Regions from separate parts of the Homo sapiens genome. Here region 1 is linked to region 2. The links are contacts of gene promoters, found by promoter capture Hi-C in human tissues and cell types (Jung and others, 2019). All regions are on one chromosome and are shown on one strand. The core of a region is centred on a gene start or on the middle of the fragment in contact, and the rest is flanking DNA. Distances in the headings are between cores, read along the strand shown. Region 1 overlaps SRBD1 (S1 RNA binding domain 1). Region 2 holds the start of PREPL (prolyl endopeptidase like).

What was found. Contacts are between HindIII fragments. The study calls those that stand out against the background at their distance.
Region 1: a fragment that was not itself captured here is called in contact with the fragment with the promoter of PREPL in region 2 in 1 of the 25 tissues and cell types used here (aorta).

Annotation. Positions count from the first base shown.
Region 1 is chr2:45,439,752-45,445,939 of GRCh38, forward strand. The region is part of intron 16 of SRBD1 (S1 RNA binding domain 1); the gene reads right to left. Among named protein-coding and RNA genes, the nearest start is that of SRBD1, 170 kb to the right of the region's middle. The HindIII fragment of the contact is 3,880 bases long and covers 1-3,450 here.
Region 2 is chr2:44,358,590-44,364,538 of GRCh38, forward strand. It overlaps PREPL (prolyl endopeptidase like), which reads right to left and starts at 2,905. Exons shown (of 14, transcript NM_001171613.2): 1 at 2,791-2,905. It overlaps CAMKMT (calmodulin-lysine N-methyltransferase), which reads left to right and starts at 3,358. Exons shown (of 11, transcript NM_024766.5): 1 at 3,358-3,556. The coding sequence starts at 3,419. RefSeq lists enhancers at 2,277-3,171, 2,548-3,747, 2,984-3,453, 3,172-4,065. The HindIII fragment of the contact is 8,691 bases long and covers 1-5,949 here.

The DNA.
Region 1 (6,188 bases), core at 261-2,760, 1.1 Mb after region 2:
CTTAAAATCTTTGCATTTTTTTCTGCAGGTAGATCATACCGAAAAAAAAAAAGAACCATAAGTAAAAAATACAACCTAAGTTTCTAACCTGGTAGGCCAGATAATCAGTTTAGAAGACAACAGCAGTGCCCTTAACATCTGTCTCTCGGGTTTCATAGCTAGTGGCCGGGGTGCAAAATATAGAACACTTCTGGTTTTTGTCCACTGCAATCTGATAGCAGATGTCCTCCCCAGATGTCTCACCTCCTGACTCTAAAAGGTAATCCTTTTCTATATAAAGTATTTTGTAAAGCCAGAATCATTCTCAGCATAGCTTCTGTAGACCACATAGGTAGTCAGTTAATGACACAAGCTTGCTAGTTAGCTGCTTGTTTGGTTCTCATTCCATAAATAGACGTTAAGATACTGATCCTGCCTTTAAAAGTTTCTGGTGATGATTAAAATTTAAACAAAATATATAACTTCTTTATGAATCATGAAACTAAAAAAATGAGTCTTTTTGTATGTTATCTAAGAGTCCTGTGTTTAAATTTTAATGCAGACAAACTTTCATTCTTTCCTCCAGTAGGTGTTCTTATGTCCCCTAGTGGATACAGGTCGATATGGTGGACGAATGATAGGGCAATACTGGCTAAGTAAAGGTTCATAAATCCTAAATGTCTGCCTTGCCCACATATTTTTCCAAACCAGTACCTTGCACTATTCTAATTTACCATAAACAAAGAAAACATTAGTATATCTGAACTGGACCACACCTATCTGCCCCCATGTGTGGTCACTGGGCTAAAACATAGTTCTGGCTCATGACATATGCATGAACAAATGCACACCAATTAGCTACACATTTTGACCTGACATAATACAAAGGAGTTGACATTTCCACTGTAAATCTCTATTTTTAGAGATTTATAGCTTAGTCATAAAAGTGGACTTTAGAAAAATCAAGAGTGCAAACTTTTAGCCATAAGAAAGAATTTTTCCCTTCTAATAAATTAAAACAGTGTGTAGAAAATCTGATCTGAAACTATGGTTCTGTGTGAGAGAGACAGAAAGAGAGAGACAGAAATAGAGGGAAGGAGGGAGGGAAGGCAGGGAGGCATCCTCCTGGTGTTCAGAAATTTTGACAGCCATGTTTAAATTATTTGTCTGTTTGAGGAGACAGAGGTTGGAGAAAAAAAGAGTATTAACGCATAATAATAAAAAAAGGCTTTTCTTCTCCACATGTAGAAAAAAGGCTCTTTCCTAATGTTTCCAGTAGTAAGTTCTAAAGATACATTTTCTCTTCCCAAATACACATACATGTATGTGGCCACACATGTAGTCAGATGTGAACTGGCTTCCAGCCCATTATTATTATAGACAGTAAACCTTTCAAATTAGACCTGAGGCTGACACTGCCAGGACAGGATCCACATTAATGTGGAGTCAGAGAGTTAATATGGAAAGGAAAGGTTTCCTTTCGCTTCCATGTCCCATCTCTACATAACCATGGCGACAGAGCCCAGGCACTCCATGTGATCTGCAATGATCCTCCACACCTAGCCTCATGCACTGGTGGCAGTGAAGACCAGGCTGCAAAACTCTGCCTCCCATACTGTTCCTATCCCCATTTCCTATTTTATCCATAGTATTTATTATCACCTGATGCACACAGGTGTGTATGTGTGTAAGTAAATAAATATGATTTGTTATTGTATCCTGGTACATAGTACGTACTCACTCTAACTGCTGCTTTAATTTTATTTCCTTAAGTACTGGTTTAGTTGAAGATCTCTTTGTTCATTTGCTGGCCATTTAGACTTTTCTTTGTATTCCCACTTCTTAACACCATGCTTCTTAGTACATAGTAGCTACTCAATAAATTGGGTAAAGGAAGGAAAAACCAGGGACAAATTTCTAACAGTTCGGCTTTTGGATTCTTCTTGCTGAAGCTGGGAATTTGGTTTAAGAAAAAGAATTGCCCTAAAATAGGAGGAGATACTGGTGACGTGGCATTGCTTGAGGGCATTACAGCAGCACAATCTCAATTCCTATTATAGAAACGCTTTCTTAGCAGGCATCAATCAACAGCAAACTCAGAAATTTTAAAGTGAAATTTAAGATGTCCTAACATGTTAAGACTGACCATAGCCATAGGCCCTCCCACTCCAAGCTGCCAAATTCTCATGCCAATACTTTCTGGGTAGGTTTTTAGGTCAATAAAGAGTTCCTGTTAACTCACACCCTAGTCAGACTAATCTCTGATGCTTTAATTGGAAATGTTTAAGTCTTTCTTTTCCTGGGAACTCAAAACTTAAGCTTCTGTCGCTTCAAACATGAACTAAAGTACAGCATCTTGTCATACAATAAAAAGATACCAAAGAAGCTGGGAGATTTAGAACCGGTATGCAAAGACACACTAGGAAGTCCTGACATGTCAGCTCCCAGGTCAAGCCTTATGAAACTCATTTATGGGATGTCATTTACCACAGACAGATTCTCTATCTTATAACTGACATGGTCAGAAACCAATTAAGCACCTCTAACAGAAAGGTCCAACAGCATACGTTGGTACAGACACATACCTTGATGCAATTAATAGATATGGGAAAAAACTTATATGAAAATGTTGCCTTTAGACATAATCTTTTCTTTAATGTTCATTGTAGTAGGACTCATTTTCCTGCAATATCTCCCGTTCTGGGAGAATTAGGTGAAACCACACCCATTTGACCCACAGACTAACTGTGCCGTGGACAACGGCTAGGTCACAGAGTTAAAGAAAATACAAATTGAAGAATTCTGGAATTTAGAAAAGAGATATGGATATTACTAACTCCTCTTTACCAGGGAGAGAATCCTACGGTATAGGAACCAAATGTTGGTCCTTAAAGAAACAGCTATATGAGCAAGATCAGGACTCAGATAATTCATCTTATTCATTCTCAACCCATCAAGGGAATATTCTATTGGAGTAAATCTCAGCTTAGAACTGACAGTTTATTTTAAGTAAGTTTGGGTTTTAAAGTGAATCAGCAACTTATTTCCATTTTAGTTTGAGAGTTTTCTGACACTGAGAAGAAATGGAGATAAGGCAGTCTAGCTACCTTTACATGCCACCCTTTTATAATATTCTAACAAAATTTCTTTCCTTCTCTGGAGGCAGTAGTGTCTCGTCCCTAAAAGTAAGTTTGTAATAAATATCTACTGTTTTGAATGGCCACACGTAGTAACAAGCTACAGTGCTGAAATTGAAAGGAGGGCAATCTGGCTGAGACATAACCAAAAAAAGGGGAAAGTACTAAGAAATAAGGCTGGAGAGTAGACAAGCTCTTGTAAGTCTCCATGGCAAGGAGTTTGAATTTTATTCCAGAGACAACGGGAACAGAGATGGGATCTGACATACTTTTTAAAAATTATGCTGTAGAAAATGGATTTTAAAAAGACAAAAGTGAAAACAGGAAGTCCTGGTAAGAGACTTTCTCAGTATATCAAGAGGGAGATGATGGCTGCCTAGAGTCAGGTAGCTGGAGGAAAAAGAGGGAAAGAAGCAGATGGAGTTAATAGTAGAGAATGATGAAGCAAAAGGAAGAATAAAGAATCTTAATAACAAGAAGTTTTTAATGACAACAGGTTTGCAGTTTTACTAATTGGGCAGATGATGATGCCATTAATAGAAACAGGGAAGGATAAGACAGTACTGCGGTTTTAATTTTAAAATTTTGGTGGGGGGGATTAGTGGAGGGACGTCAACAGTTTTTTTCTAGACATGTTAAGTTTGAGAAGCCTATTAGACTTCCAAATTGAAAGGTTAAGATGGCAGGTGGACATATGGAGTTTGGAGTTCAGGGACGAGATCAATGGTGTTTAAGGTAGAAACTGTCTAGCATGCAGATGGGAAGAACACTGTAAACATCTAAAACTTTGGCAGACAGGCAGGGTGTGGTAGGGAGAAGAACCAGTAACATCAGGGAATAAAGTGGAAATGTGTATACTGTAAGCAGCTAAGTAAACAAAGAAAAACAAAACAACTCTTTTGCAGTGGTTATATGCAAATAGTTCTGAAGTTATTTTGAAAAAAAAAAAAAAAAAGAGGTGATAACTACCCACTAGTTTTACAAAGAGTGTTGCTTCCAGATTTTTTCTTACGCATATCTAGTAATTTTCATCAGACCAGGCGCTTAATCTTTAATGACAGGTACTCCATAAATGTCTATTACAGGGCTGAATTTCCAGAGAAATATTCATAATCTGGTGCAGCTGTTTTTTATTCTAAGGGGCAAAATACAAAATGTTACAGAGAATCTACAGGAAGTTTTAAAGTTCTTCAACAGCTCTACATAAGAAAATCCATTTTACAGTACTAACACCAGAACATATTAATATTTATACTGGCCAGGAGCAGTGGCTCACACCTATAATACCATAACTTTGGAAGGACAAGGCGTGAGGATCTCTTGAGGTCAGGAGCTTGAGACCAGCCTGGGCAACATAGTGAGACCCTAACTTTACAAAAAAAATTAAAAATTACCTGGGTGTGGTGGTGCACCTGTAGTCCTAGCTACTCAGGAGACTGAGGTGGGAGAGTCACTTGAGCCTAGAAGTTAGAGATAACAATAACAAGCTTATCATTTCTTTACCAAAATATCCACATAACTTTAGTAAAGAAATAAGCTTGTTAATATGTAAAGACATGGAAACCTCCTGTATACACTTGGGTGAAGGTGGGACAGTGGTAATTTTTTTTAAATCTTTTTTCCTTCTTTTCCCAAAGAATCACTTTTAACTTTTCAGGGTAAGTTTAAAATAGCTTTGCTTTGAATGAATCCTTTTTGTTCATTATTTAAAAATCAAAATATGCAAATAAATAGACAAAGGACCACACTATACTGGTTCAAAGTTCTTTATCCTTCTTCTTTAGTTAAAAATAATCACATACATATGTTAGTTGGCATCATAATTGGGATAATTTCAATAATCTTTTTCTCTAAATTTCCTCTGAATGTACTTCTCAACTGCTCAAATACTAATGCTCTTCTGCACTGGCATCAGAAGCCACTCAAGTTGGGGAACTCCTTTGGTATCAGTAAGAGACAAAGCCTCTGGCCCTGTGACCACTCAACGTTCATTCAGCAAAGGCAACCTTCTGGCATGAAAGTAAGCCTTCAGAAGTCAGTCAGAAAGAATGATGCAAAATTTCTTGAAAACTTTGCCAGATGATGAACATAAAAAGTAGAGGGCAAAATAACATTGTCAAATTTGCTCTCCATTTTAGGAACTCAAGGCAAGACAAAAGTCATCCCGACCACAGTAGACAATGTTTCCATTGCTTTTAACTAATCCAGTAGAAAAAGCATCTAAAGTTTCAGGCATTTAAGAGTGACAATTGTCTTTCAGACAGTTGGAAAGGATGTGAAAAAACACTTGTTGGAATAAACGGAATGTGCCTTGGCTTCTGTGGTCAAAATTTCTGGGACTCAGCTGAAAAAAGATTCTGGCTTAAGACTTACATGGTTTTCATCACCCCATAAACATTAACATTATTGATGCAGATCTGTCACTTGAAATATTTTACCCATATCCTCCACTGCAAGGAATTTTCTTTTTACCCATTCATCTCTAGTGACAAATTTGTGGCATTTACAAATTTAAAAGGCTGTCAAAATCTAATAATGAAATCTTGGGGGGAGTCACATGGGGGCACAGATCAGAAGGAACCAAAATTAATTTTAGAGGATTTACTACATAGGTTAGGGGTCACAATGAGGCAAGTTTCTCTCTATAGTGTGAAATGCACAGAAGCAATATCTTCCCAGAGGTAAAAAAAAAAAAAAAAAAAAAAAAAAAAAGTAGAAAAGGAATTAGTGTTAGTCAAGCCACGGAACAAAGTCAGAAACATATTAAAGAAACCAATGTTAGACAGCATAGAAAAACCATGTTGTCAGTGACTTAAACCATGCCAGAGTCCATCATTGTTTTAATAATAGCTATTACTAAGAGTCATATATACTTTTCAACTACTGATAACTCACCTATGAAACGTTTTCATCTCAACAGACATTAAATTTAAAGGCTCAAGTTCTACAATTTTTCCCCAGTAAAGTTCAACAAAAATGGAAACATGGTTTAAAAAGTAAAGGCCAGGGTGTTTTCCCTTGCCAAATCCTCTATGATGTACCTGCTACTAGAGAAAGTTCAATGGCTAGGAA
Region 2 (5,949 bases), core at 1,655-4,154:
GGACACTTTTGAGAGGAAAGGGGACACTATTAATAATTACACAGGGACAACAGGTGTAGGCTGGAGCTGTGCCAGGCAAAAGTGGTTATGTGGTTACTCTCTATATAAGGGCAATCAGGTCCTTAAGGTTGAGTTCACGCCCACAGCTTGGGGTCTGGCAGAAGTACAATACTCTGACAGTGTCTTCCTGAATGACTCAAGTGGTCAAAAACGCAAGATTATTTTTCATTTTTTTACAGAGAAATAAAATACAATTCATGGCCTTTACTGAAGTTTACTGATTTGTGATTCATAAAACAATTAGCGTATCATTAGATTTTATTAAGAGCTATAATTTAGTGTTCTAGGAAATTTAGAAGGCCGAATTATACTTTGAAATGCACTGGCAGGCATACTAAGGAAGTCCTGAGGTGAATCATTTTTTATAAACCTACATTTTTATATATTACATTAGAGCCCTATAAATATATGTATACACTTTTTTTTTTTTTTTTTTTTTCAGACAGAGTCTCCCTGTCACCCAGGCTGGAGTGCTGTGGTGCGATCTCAGCTCACCGCAACCTCTGCCTCCTGGGTTCAAGAGATTCTCTGCCTCAGCCTCCCAAGTAGCTGGGATTACAGGTGGGTGCCATGACGCCTAGCTAACTTTTGTATTTTTAGTAGAGACAGGGTTTTACCATGTTGGCCAGGCTGGTCTCGAACTCCTGACCTCAGGTGATCTGCCTGCCTCGATGTATATACTCTTTTATACTTACTTTTGACTAGAGACAATTGAGACTTGAAAATTAGAAAAATCAAGTTAGAATTACTGAGAAAATTAGTAGCTCTGATATTCTACCCATTCTTTATTTTTAAATTAAAATTAATCTTAATGACCTACAAATAGGTTAACTTAAACAGTCCATACCTTACATGAGAAGCTCCGACTTGGGATGTTTCTTGCTAACTCTGATATCTTGGGTTTATTCTGAAGACACTTGGTTAGGTGATATTTTTTCAATTTTATTCTATTGTAACAATGATCAGCGAAGTTATAGTGATTCAAATGCTGTTTCTGCATGCATTTTCCAAGGTGAGGAATACTATACTTCAAAGCTTGGAGAAATAATTTGGTCTTCTGCTGCATGATATCAAAGTCCCTGGTTTATGCTCCTTTTGGGGCTGCCAGCACACGAATGATTTTATAGGTATGATTACAGAGTAGTGGGTTCTCAGAGTAACTAAGATCAGCAGTTCTCATCCCTCCTTTTCAGGGCCATGCCCCACTTAGGTTATGAATAACTTCAGACAGCTGATAACTTAGGCTAACTAAATCTAAAAACCTGTGTAAGTTAAAGTTTCATTCAAATCATAATTCTTGGCAGATGTGACTTAAATGTCTCATTTGTAAAGTTAATCCTATCAGGCTCAAACTATGCAGCACTGACTCTGGCACACATAGGGGTTAAACTAAAACAAAAAACAAAACAAGAAACAAAATATAAATTTGCAAATAAGTACACAGACTTAATGGGGTATCTCAGGAACTCAGGGCTGTAAAAGGTAAAAAGCCCTTTGGTCTTACATAATTATGAACGTATCTTTGGTATATATGTGGAAGATAAACTGGAAAAGCCTAATTATTTAATAAAGGTGGGGGAGGGAAGATTAATTATTGTTGAGTGTTAACTAACTGCCAGGTGCTTTTATCTTGTTTGTCTAATTTAAATTTTATATGGACTTAATAAAGTAGATATTACCATGCACATTTTACAGGTTGCCAAACTGTGGCTGTGGGAGGTTCTAAGCAACTGTTCCAGGTCACTTGTACAGTAAGCTGTATAGCAAAAAATCCAATTTGGTTCGGTTCCAAATACTGGACATACTCAACTTCGGATTTTTAATGTTAAAAAGGTATTTAGCGCTTTAATTAAAAACAACAAAAAACCCCTGCAAGATGCACAAATAAAATGTAAGGCCATCTCTGGTTTGTCAGGAGGTAGCTTTTATTAACCTTGATTGCTAATAAGTAGTTAAGAGTCAGAGAGACCTGGGTTGAGGTCTTAGCTCCTACACTTAACTGTGTCTCCGGGCCTCAGTTTCTTCATCTGCAAAAATGAAATGACACCATTTACCTTCTAGGGTTGTTGTTGTAAAGACAAAATGAGACAGCTTAACATTAAGACCATACAGTGCCTGGCACATAGTGACCACTCAATAAATGGCAGTTGCTATTATTTACGACAGGAATAATCTAGGTATGTTGCACACCGCTGAATGTCATTATGGAAGTCTTCCACAAAATGCCCCCTGGTATCAAAGGTAGAATGCTGCGTCAAATTTACCATAGATCAGATGCGCTACGACGCCCCCGCCCCCCTTAATCCCTTTCCATGTCGCAGCAAAATAATGGGCGATTGGGGGTAGGGGAGCAACACTAGTTTACTAGCCGACACTAGTAAAAAAAGGGGAAAAAAGACCCGAATAACAAGGACCTGCAAAGGTCCTACATCACCACGTTCCCACAGCCTTTATCCATCCATCTTTCATCCCCAAGAAGACAGTATGCAAGGCTAGGATGGGGGTGGGGTAGATAAATGGGTGTTCTCAGGAGAACCTATTCGTTTACCCCGTGCAACTCTCCACCCCAGGGATGAGGCGATCTGAATGCAACAGGGAGAGGGACCAGGTGACACGCACGCAGTGCCGGGACATTAGTCAAAAAGCGAGGACCTGGGGACTGAGGGGTGGGTGGCTGGGCGGGGGGAGAAAGGGGAGAAGGAAAGAGACCAGCACACCCCCCATACATACGCAAATTGAGAGAATCAGTCCGGCTCTGGACACAAACCAGTGAAGGCAGGCCGGAGAACCTGAAGCTCTCAGAGGGGAGCAGGTGTCACCGCAGGCAAGTCCAGCCGAAGTCTGCGTTCCGCAGCCCACAGAACGACAACTTACCCAGAGCCGCCTAGAGCTGGTTTGCAGCACGCCAATCTACGTAACCTCAATCTAGCACGAGCAACAGGCAGATTTCGCCATCTTTGTTGTGGTCAAGGAGTCTTCTTGGGTTCCTGGGTTCTTTAGTCTCGAAATATATAAGACTTTTCGTTCTTCGCTAGTCTTCTGAGCTCGAGATGAAGCACAGAAGGCTAAAACAATGAGGGACAGCGTTCCAGTAGCCCTGCCACAGCTCTCTCATCCTCTGGTCCGCCCTCACTCAAGATGGCTACCAGCAAGAATGGTGCAATGGCGTGACAGCTCGGCCCTGGTTGCCAAGGAGATGCGAGTACCGGAAATGCGGAATTCGGGGAGAGCGCGCATGCCTGGTCCGGTGGAGGGAGGGTGCCGGGCGTCACAGGTCCTGACAGGGAAGAAGTTGGCAGGTCCTGGCAGGGGACGAGCTGCGGCGGTGGCACCTCCGGGTGTGGAAGGCTCCAGTGAGATGGAGTCGCGAGTCGCGGACGCTGGGACCGGCGAGACCGCGCGAGCAGCGGGCGGGAGTCCGGCAGTTGGCTGCACCACTCGGGGGCCCGTAGTCTCGGCGCCCCTGGGAGCCGCCCGGTGGAAGCTCCTGCGGCAGGTAAGGGAGAACCTGCTCGCCTCACCTTTGCCTCTGGTCACTCCTCTCTCACGTACCGGGGGAGCGACTGTTCGCAGTTCTTTCCTCTTGGCAGCTCTGGGAGACCCTTCTCAGTTTGCCGGGAGCCACCTGCGAAGCTCCCCCTCGCTTCACCTAAGCGTCCCATCCAAGAGGAGGAATCATGTGGGGTTGGGTGGGGAGCGGGACAGCCAAGGCTGAGCTCCTGGGAAACTCAGATCGAAGTAGAAGAACCCCTTCTAGACATTTTTGTGCGTCTGGGGGACTTTTCCCCTTCTCGCCAGTCTCTGGTGCGCCCGCCGCTCCCCACTGCTCTTTTCCTGCTTCTGTTTTGCCTCCTTCCCCAGTTTCTTCTAGCTTAACTCCCAGCCTGGTTCGAGTTACCGATATTCGTCTGCACCCTCTGGCCCCGTCTTTTGCCCAGCGTGGTTGACTATGCCGGGACTGAGACACGGCATGCGTTCCCTCGGCATCTTCCGTACAGCGGAGCGTGCAAGGAGTAGGAAAAGCTGATACCCTCTCTCACTGAGGTCTCAAAGTTAAATGATTATCTTGTAGTTTGTAGTGATCAGCGAGATTCTCCGTGTCCAAGGTGGGCTAGTCAAAGTGTGTTCGTTTTTGAATGATGGTATCTTCTGGTACTTCAAAGTTTCTGCTGTTACTTACAACTCCACTCGTGCAAGCTTGACGGAAGTTCTGATTTATGATCACTCACATTCTTCGCTCACTTCTTGAAGTGAAGTCTGGTTATTGTTTTTGCATAGCAGTGTTATGCCTCTGCCTGAAGTTTTCTGCCGAAAACTTTACTCAGGAGGACATTTTTCCATTTCTGACAGTTGTGTTTGGAAAAGAGTTTCCCAGCTATTGCCACTTTACTTGAGATTGTGCTTTTAGTATTTTGGGGATCACTTTGTTTGCAGTTGCCTTGAGTCACCTTTTCATACAGTGGTCTTTTAGTGCTTTTAGAGTTATGAGTTAAGTAGATCATCAGAGTTAATTAAGATTTATTTGCTGATACATTGACAGTCTTTCCAGACCAGTAATGATCTGGTTTTGCTATTGTTACAAATGGTATTACAGGATAAGAAAATGCATGTCCTCACAGATCATCATAGGAAGTATCTATAATAAAGTAAATATCTAATTTTTTTTAATAGTGACCACTGAAATGAGATCTGGCGTGAGCTGGGGAGAGTGGACTCAACCCCCCTTCCCCCCTCCTTTTTTTTTGAAATGGAGTTTCCCTCTTGTTGCCCAGGCTGGACTGCAATGGCTGCCATCTCCGCTCACCACAACCTCCGCCTCTAGGGTTCAAATGATTCTCCTTCCTCAGTCTCCCCAGTAGCTGGGATTACAGGCATGCACCACCACGCCTGGCTAATTTTTTTTTTTTTTAAGTAGAGACGGGGTTTCTCCATGTTTGTCAAGCTGGTCTCGAACTCCCCACCTCAGGTGATCCACCCACCTCGGCTTCCCAAAGTACTGGGATTACAGGCATGAGCCACCGTGCCCGGCAACCCCCTTCTTTTTTTTTTTTTTTTTTCGATACAGAGCCTTACTGTGTTGCCCAGACGTGAGTGCAATGGCGCAATCTCGGCTCACTGCAGCCTCCGCCTCCCTGGTTCAAGCAATTCTCCCGTACTCAGCCTTCCGAATAGCTGGGATTACAGGTGCTCGCCATTACGCCCAGCTAATTTTTGTGTTTTTAGTAGAGACGGAGTTTCGCCATGTTGGCCAGGCTGGTCTCAAACTCCTGACCTCAGGTGATTCACTTGCCTCGCCTCCCGAAGTGCTGGGATTACAGGTATCAGCCACCATGCCTGCCACGCCCACCGCCCCCACCCTTCCTTTTTTTTTTTTTTTTTTTTTTAAATAAGATAGAGTCTTGCTTGTTGCCCAGGCAGGTAACTCCTGGGCTCAAGCAATCCTCCCACCTCAGCCTCCTGAGTAGTTGGAATTACAGGGGTATGCCATGATACCTGGCTTTCAGTGATTCTCAGTATAGTAAAAACTACAGCACTTATGTTCATTCTAAATTGCGGTCTAAATGAAAACAGTGACAAGTTTCAGCTGTGGCTGTTACATGAAGTCCCCACACGTTCTGACATCGAAACTTTTGGTATATATCTGCCTGCTTATAGTCTTTTTATCTTCTCTACTTGGTGAATGATTGTTCATTCTTCACACTTCCATTTCAAACTACTCTTCTGTGAAGCCACCCCTAATGCCTCTGGGCTAAGTTAGACCCTCAGCCAACTCTACCAATGAGCCCTTTATATTATTTTATGATCATGTGATCAGGGTCTCTTTTTCTTACTAGAATGGGCATTCACCCTGGGAAAAGGTGATGTTTTATTAATTTACATCCTCTGCAC